Regions from separate parts of the Homo sapiens genome. Here all the other regions are linked to region 3. Evidence: promoter capture Hi-C in 16 types of primary human blood cells and fetal thymus (Javierre and others, 2016). All regions are on one chromosome and are shown on one strand. The core of a region is centred on a gene start or on the middle of the fragment in contact, and the rest is flanking DNA. Distances in the headings are between cores, read along the strand shown. Region 1 overlaps NRXN3 (neurexin 3). Region 2 overlaps NRXN3 (neurexin 3). Region 3 holds the start of GTF2A1 (general transcription factor IIA subunit 1).

What was found. Contacts are between HindIII fragments. The CHiCAGO score rates a contact against its expected background, and 5 or more counts as called.
Region 1: a contact is called between a fragment that was not itself captured here and the fragment with the promoter of GTF2A1 in region 3, in 1 of 17 cell types (endothelial precursors). The highest score is 7.0, in endothelial precursors.
Region 2: a contact is called between a fragment that was not itself captured here and the fragment with the promoter of GTF2A1 in region 3, in 1 of 17 cell types (M2 macrophages). The highest score is 10.7, in M2 macrophages.

The regions. Positions count from the first base shown.
Region 1 is chr14:78,915,512-78,918,211 of GRCh38, forward strand. The region is part of intron 10 of NRXN3 (neurexin 3); the gene reads left to right. Among named protein-coding and RNA genes, the nearest start is that of NRXN3-AS1, 160 kb to the right of the region's middle. The HindIII fragment of the contact is 844 bases long and covers 913-1,756 here.
Region 2 is chr14:79,028,742-79,031,441 of GRCh38, forward strand. The region is part of intron 15 of NRXN3 (neurexin 3); the gene reads left to right. Among named protein-coding and RNA genes, the nearest start is that of NRXN3-AS1, 45 kb to the right of the region's middle. The HindIII fragment of the contact is 4,313 bases long and covers 1-2,700 here.
Region 3 is chr14:81,219,621-81,222,320 of GRCh38, forward strand. GTF2A1 (general transcription factor IIA subunit 1) reads right to left here and starts at 1,339. Exons shown (of 9, transcript NM_015859.4): 1 at 869-1,339. The coding sequence starts at 898. GTF2A1-AS1 (GTF2A1 antisense RNA 1) reads left to right here and starts at 1,598. Exons shown (of 2, transcript NR_135252.1): 1 at 1,598-1,905; 2 at 2,019-2,700. RefSeq lists enhancers at 1-61, 1-3, 44-133 and silencers at 474-593, 1,124-1,173, 1,204-1,503. The HindIII fragment of the contact is 3,079 bases long and covers 1-2,332 here.

The DNA of each region.
Region 1 (2,700 bases), core at 85-2,584, 2.3 Mb before region 3:
GATACTGGAGATACAAATATAAATGAAACACAGTTCTTGCCCTTAAGAAGCCCACAGTCAAATGGAAAATATATAGAAATAAATAGCACTGTAATGTGATAGGCAGACAGGATTGCTTAATTCTCACTGAAAGATTCAGATCAGAGTTACCCTCTGTGCAGCTTCTTGATGGATGATGGGGAGGGCCAGCATCTGGGGTTGGAGAAAAGAAAGGTGGGTCTCAGGGAAGAAATTCCATGTGCCAAGATACAGAGGGGTAAAATTATGTGGCCTTTTCAGTATATGAAAGCAGTGATTCACAGAACTTAGATGATACACCTTGACAAGATACTCAAGACTCCCAAGACAAGACACTCAAGAGAGTGTCTTGAAAATAGAGTCTTTAAGGAGTAATTCAATTAAAATTATGGCATTAGTGCAGACTGTAATTCAATACGACTGGTGTCTTTGTAAGAAGAGAATGTCCCTATAAGAAGATACTCAAGAATTCCAAGATAAGACACTCTTGTGTCTTGGGAGAAATTCTCATCTTGGGAGTCTTGAGTGTCTTGTCCAGGTGTATCATCTAGTACAGAAAATAGCTCAAAAATTGTGATAGCCTTGAGAATATATTTTACATTACTTACTGTCGAAACTGGGACTGTTTTTATCACAAAAAGGGGCACTATTAATAATTACACTGGAATGGGTATAAATTAAAGCAGTCTGGGGAAACCCAAACATATGGTCAACCTAATGATACCTGTTTTCCTGCATAAAGGGGTTATAATTGTACTAATTTATGGTGCAAACTGGGTGCTAAAGCTAGTGATGAGTTTCTCTGCTAGAAAAATGTTCCAAAGAAATAAACCAAGACAGTTAATGCAGAGTTTTGGTAGAAGGGATAACTACTTTTAGATGGTAGGTCACAGAAGCTTGTCCGAGGTGAGGACTTTGGGCTGAGTCCTGAATACAAACAGCCAGCTATGGGAAGCTCCATGGCAGGAGTGCTCCAGGGAGAGGGAATCCCAAAAGCCCTTTGTGGGAGTCCTTCTGTTAGAGAAGACCTGTTTGGATGGAGAATACAAAACCAGGGGGGCTTGGGAGATGAGGTCCGAGACATAAGGAGAGGCTAGTTCATGTTCAGCCATGTACATGTGGTGGGGAATTTGAGTTTTATTCTAATTGGTGGAAGCACAGCAGGTGATAGAGCATACCTCACGTACTAGTTTACAAGGGCTGCCTTCACAAAGTACCCTGGACTGGGTGACTTAAACAATAGAAATTTATTTCCTCGCAGTTCTGCAGGGTGGACCTCCCAAATCAAGGTCCTGGCTGAGTTGGTGCCTTTTGAGGGCTGTGAGAGAAGGATCTGTTCCAGAACTTTCTTCTTGGCTTTTAGATGGCTGTCTTCTCCCTGTTTCTTTACATTGTCTTCCTGCTGAACATGTCTGTGTCCAAGTTTCCTCTTCTTATAAGGACGCCAGTCATATTGGACTAGGGTCCGCCCTCATGCCATAATTTTAATTGAATTACTTCTTAAAGACCCTATCTTCAAATATGGTAAGCCTCTGTGGTATTGGGGTTTAGATTTCAACATACGAGTGTTTGGAGGGACAGAATTCAGCCCACAACACCTCATTAAGCCTGGAAGAGACCGTAAGAATATTCGATTAACTGGATAAGAAGCACTTAAACCCAATTTCTAAGAAAAGAGGGATAAAAAGGTATACTGTTTCCAGGTATAGTATGAAGGTCATGATATAAAACAGAAAGAAGCTTTTTAGAAGGGAACAAAAAACACTGGGGCTTACTTCAGGAGGGATGGTAGAAGGAGAAAGAGGAGCAGAAAAAATAACTATTGGATACTAGGGTTATTACCTTGGTGATTAACTGATCTGTGCAACAAATCCTATGATAGGAGTTCACCTATACAACAGACCTGCACATGTACCCTTAAACCGAAAATTAAAGTTAAAAAAAGGAAAGAAGCCTTATACAGAGGACTATATATAGCCTTATATAAAGGACTATATTAAGAATTCTTGTGAGAAGTCATTATTTAGGTGTCAGGCATCTATAGCCATTTAAACAGAGTCTGTGTGTAACAGTCTTGAGCTGCTGATGAAAGAAGGTGTAGAAGAGTGTTGGTGCCAAGATCTGGAGTGGAGTGGTAGGATCCTGACCTGGAGCACCCAGGAATGACTGTCCTTTGTGCACAGGTGATAGACAAAACTGGGGGAATGAGGAGTTGAACATGGAGGTATATGAGGAAGGCTCATCCGCTCTTCAGAAATCCAGAAACCTAAGTGTGAAAACACAGATTTGAGGGCCTCCACCTGACTTGGTGGGATGCTCTTCATAGGAGATATTCTCCTAATGTACATTACAAAGTCAATCTAGGAGTAATGTAAAAGTGATAGTTATCTTAAACAACCTGAATATTTTCTAGATATGTGATTTTGCAAAAATAAAAAAAATAAAAAAATAAAAAAATGAAAAAAAAAAAAAAAGGCCAGGCATGGTAGCTCACGCCTGTAATCCCAGCACTTTGGGAGGCCAAGGCAGGCAGATCACCTGAGGTGGAGAGTTCAAGACAAGCCTGACAAACATGGAGAAACCTCGTCTCTACTAAAAATACAAAATTAGCCGGGCGTGGTGGCGCATGCCCGTAATCCCAGCTATTCAGGAGGCTGAGGCGGGAGAATCGCTTGAACCTGG
Region 2 (2,700 bases), core at 86-2,585, 2.2 Mb before region 3:
TTGGAGTTTCAGGGAAATGAGAAGAGCATGGAGAGGACTTTTGAATTAATCCATTGATCCACGAGTTACCATAGCCTCCGTGCTGCATACAGAAGGTACCATGAAGGGGTATAGTTCTTTTGCTCTTTTCTCACTGCCTGATCCATTCTAAATGTAACTCTTGTTCCAGACCAAGTGCAGAAATCTTTACAGAGAGAAAGCATTGGGATGGGGATGAGGCTATGCTCAGCCAGTCTGGGAGATCTCTAGGGGAAAATGTCATAGGAAAAAATAGTGATAAATATGCTTAAAAGAAGGCAAGGAAGAAAGCAAGGAAGGAAGAAATAAAGAAAAAGAGAGAGAGGAAGAAAGAGAGAATGAAAAGAAGGGGGTTGGGAGGGAGGAAATAAAAGAAAAAAGAATGGAAAGGAAGAAAGGAAAGAGAGAGGAAATATGGTATATCAGTTATTCTGCATGATATGTTTGAGTTGAGTTTGTGGTGGTTACTTGCCCCAGGGTATCAAAAGAAGTCTCCAATTAATTTGTAGCCAGTGTAACCATATAGCATCTATTTGCTTAGTTTTCAATAATAATAATACTGGTTCTGATTAAATAAAGCATATTGTCAAACTTATTATTTGCAAACATATTACTGTTGTAACTGGTAATTGCTCAGATCTCTTTCGGTTCCTGCCCCGACACCCAAAAGTCAAGAGGGTGGAAGGTGACCCTTTCTAAGACTTTGACATGGAAATTCTTTATTCTGTTTCAGGAATGGCAAATTCCAGTTTACAGATGGATGGAAAAGATTTCTTCCTTGTGATAATAGAATGCAGGACAGTATTTCTCAATAGCCATGCCAATGACATTTTTTGACTGGTTAATTCTTTGAGGGGATTGTACTATGCATTATAGGATATTTAACAGCATCCCTAGCCTCTACACAGTAGCTGCCAGTAGTAGCCTCCCCAACACTAATTGTCACAATAAAAATATCTCCAGATGTTGCCAAATACCCCTTGTAGAGGCCCAAAAATGCCCCTTGGAGAGGGCTATAATTGACATTTTTGACCGGATAATTCTTTGGGGCAATTGTATGGTGCATTATGGTTTGTTTGTTTGTTTGTTTATTTATTTATTTATAAAACAGGGACTCATTTTTTTCACCCAGGCCTGAGTGCATTGGCATGATCTCAGTTCACTGCAACCTCTGCCTCTGAGGCTTAATTGATCCTACTGTCTTAGCCCCCCCAAGTAGCTGGGACTACAGGCATGACCACTGTGCCCGTCTAATTTTTTTTCTTCTTTTTTTTTTTCTTTCTTTCTTTCTTTTTTTTTTTTTGTAGAAACAGGGTTTCACCATGTTGCTCAAGCTGGTCTTGAACTCCTGAGCTCAAGCGACCCACCTGCCTCAGCCTCCCAAAGAATAGAATTGCAGGTGTGAGCCACCACGCCTGGCCCATTATAGAACATTTAGCAGCATTCTTAGCCTCTACATAGTAGATGCCAGTAGTAGCCCCCCCAACATAATTGTCACAATAAAAAAATCTCTAAACATTGCCAAATGTCTTTTGGAGAGGGCCACAATTGTTCCCAGTTGAGAATCACTTCTTCAGGATAGACTGTTGTTAAACCATTGATTCAGATTCCCAGGGAAAGACTGGACACTCAGCAGCCGAGCATCCTGCTGACCCCCAGAACCCTGCCTTGACACCTGCTCACAAACCCCTCCTCTCCACCCTCAAGGGCAAGGTGTAATTTAGCTGCAGCCTTTTCCCAAATGCCTGTAGCTTCTACAATTCAATCTTTTTTATTTGTAAGTATCTTTGCAGTTTTCTACTTTCAAAAGACTCTTAGTGATTTCTAATACCTCAAATTGTACAGGTACATGGCTTTTTGTCTCTTTCTCTGTGTCTTTTTTTTTTTTTTTTTTTTTTTAGCTTTTCATTGTAGAGGTTCCTACTTTTTATTTTTTCTTTCCATGTTTATTGCTTTTGTGTCTCTGTCTTCCTGATTTCATTTTGGTGTGGAAACTGTCTTTCTCTGCTATTATCAATATCTTACTACCTAGATCTCAATTTCATTTTATGGTTTAGCCTTTTGGTGTTTATCTCCCCAGTCGCTATCATCCTTTTAATGACTATTTGTGTTTCTGGGTCTTTTTTCGTGTGGCAGCTTGTCTTTTGGACTGCCTCTCTCTGTTTGTATCTTTCCAGCTATTTTTTATAGTCTCCTCCTACTTTTGGAGAATAGCGATATGTTGTTATGACATTTCTATTTGTGACTGCCTTTTTCCTCTATTGACTTCCCTTCCCCTTTCTGCCTTTCTTTTGAAAATGGCCCATCTGGATTAAGTTTCTATCAAGATCTCTTTCTATAAGCAGGATTTTTCTCAGGTATGTAATGGAAACCTTTTACTTCTGTTGAATGGTAATCCTAAGGGGAGGTCAGGGAATGGACTTTTCAGTTAACTGCTCAGAGGCAATTGTTTGTTTTACTTTATATAATCGAACTTTTATAAAACTTAGAATATTAAATCCAGCAAGGTTAAATATTTAGCCTTTTGTTAACTTTGTAAAATAAAAATAGAACTTAAATGATTCATTATAAAGCAATTATCTTAGAAAATGAATAGGTAACACATTATTAGAATCAATTTGTTCTCAAAGCTATGAGAAATAAAATCAATAATTTTTAGAGATAGATAAAGTGTTTTAGGTA
Region 3 (2,700 bases), core at 89-2,588:
AAAAACGTGTTTTATTGTCATCATAAAAATAAGAGTTGGGTGGACTAGTGATCACACTGCGTTGGTGACTGAAAAGGTTATTTATGTGACTGCTTTTTGCAAACCTACGTGATCGCAAGTAACAAAAAGGGACCAACGGGAAGAAGTAGGTAAATTTCAAGGCGAAAGCGGGGACACTTGGACCACTGCAGGCTTTTTTTGTTTGTTTTGGTGCTTCTGCTAGGCGAAGATACGATGGGGGTCTTCCCCTTCGCCATTTTACCCATTCGGAAGGAACTGAGATAAGTGCTTTTCAACCAACCTTCGTCCTTTTTTTAAACATAAAATGGCCTCAGAGAAGGTTCCCAAAGCACAGCCGCCAAAAACAACCTAAGAAACCCCCAAAGTAACCATTAATCTTCCACTGCATTAAAGTGGATCACGATGGGTCTCGGGGGTTCGCCCGATTCCCCACACACAGTTTTTGTTCTGTAGCCACTCGGGGAGCCCTCGTCAAGCCAGCGCGGACGGGCCCCTCGGGGGGAAGCGGCGGCTCCCCTCCCGCCCTCCCTCCCGGCGGCCGGGTTCTGGGGCCGGGGCTGCGCGCCCGACCGGGCCCAACCGCCTCCGCGGCCCGGCCCGGCCCGCGGCGGCCCCAGGCCCCACCGGCGCCCCCGCCCTCCCCGCGCCGCGAGCCCTCGGCGCCCCCCCGCGCCCGCCGCCCGGCGCTCCGGCCCGATCCGCCCGAGGCGGGAAGCGGCGGCGGCGGCGGCCGCGCGGGCGGCTGAAGAGTCGAGGCCGGGAGTCGCCGCCGTCCCCGCCCCCGCCCGGTCCGGCCGTTGCTGCAGCCTGAACGAAGCCCCCGCCGGCCACCGAACCACGTCCTTACCACGGTGTTTGTATTTGCCGAGTTCGCCATTTCCACACACAACACAAACAAGAGGGGGCAACCCCAAGAAAACAAGATAAAAACAAAACCAAAAAAAAAAAAACTATAACACCCGGAGGGTGACCCAAATCACCGCAAGATTGGGGAAAAAATTTTAAACAAAATCAATCCTGAAGGAGTAGGGGAGAGCGGAGAGAGGAGGAGGAGGGGGGCACTCCTCCCGCAGCTGAAAACCTCGAGAATCGCCTTAAAAAAAAAAAAAAAGCCACGACCCTTCAGGGGTCCGGGGGGCGTTGCCCGCTCCCCACCCCGCGCCAAGGAGGGAAACCACCACCGGTCACCGCTCCCTGCGCCGCCGCTGCCGCCACCGGCTGCAGCTCCAGCCGTCCGGTCCGCCCGCTTCTCTCCTTTATATAGCGAGCCAACAAGCTGCGCGAGCCACCACCGCCGCCGCCGCCGCCGCCGAGAGACAGGGTGAAGGGGGAGGGAGGGGCGGAAAGGGCGGGGGCAGAGGTGGGCGGGGCTGAGCGCGAGACACCGCGAGAGCCGCGTGCGCAGGCGCGCCGGGGCGGAGGCCGCCGGCGAGCCGCGTTGTCACGCGCCGTGGCGGGTACTGGACTGGCGGAGCCCGGGGAGTGAAGTAGTGAAATCGGACCTACGCCTCTCCAACGCTCGCGTGATCACGTGGTTGGCACCCAGGCGGAAGTCTGCGGCAGTTCTTTGCGGTGAAGAACTTGCAAAGCGTTGCTGGAAAAGACGGGAGTTCTACTGACACTCCAGTCCAAAGCTAGGTGGGACCGCCTCCTGTCGCACGTTTCCGCCTGGTCCCGCGCTTTAGGAGCTAGGAAATGTGACAGAGGCGGTGCCTACTGCCTCGCTAGGAATGGCCGCGGAGGAGGACTGGTCACGTGGCGTGGCTTCCGGCCTCTGGCGCGTTCCTATTCGGGAAGGTTTTAAATGCGGAGTCATCTCTTGATTTGTCAGCGAGGCTTTGACTGTGAGCTTCGCGGCGTTCGCGCCTCACCGCCTCACCGAGGGTGGGTCTTTCGCGCGCAGAATTGTGTAGGATTTTCCAAAGGGAGTAAAAGCCGATCGGGGCCTACTTTTAACATTCCACAATTAGTAACGTCTGATTCGTTTGTTTCCACAGTGGGTACGCTGCGAAGACTAGGCTTATGTTACCCAGAGGTTAGTCCTCTACTAGGCCACGTACTTTAAATAATTTATCACGCTAGTGGAAATGCGGGGTGGAAGAAAACCCCACCAGCCTTTGGATTGTAACAGCACAGTAACTTTCCCTGGTTTTTAAAAATATTGCCAAAATACTGCGACTCCATGTGGCCAACGTATAGTGACTGATCACTTTGAAATGCATGCCCTTGACCCACCAACTCGCATGGCCTCTCGCTATAAGAGAGCAAGCCGGCTGTGTTCCATGTTCAATTCAATAAGTGCAATTCAATAAGCTTTTGACTTGTTCTGCCCAAGCAAATCCTGCCTTTATATCGACCTTGCAAGCAGAACAGAGAATGCTGTTTGGAAGGCAGAATTCATAGTACCTAGTTTTCTTGTCCCTGGGAATTTTGAGGGACTTGAAATGTCGCGTGGATGAGTGAGGGAGTTTGTCTTCCAGAGACAAAGCAAAACGAAACGTCAAAGTTCTGTGCTGGTGAAACCAGATTTGAAGAATATCAAAGGCGTCTTACCAAAGAGGAAAAAAAATGCATCTTGCCAAGACTTGAAGAAAGGGATTAGAGAAACCAGAGGCCTTGAATACTCAGAAAATGGGAGATTGTGAATGGGTGTAGAGGATATCTATGAACCTTGACATT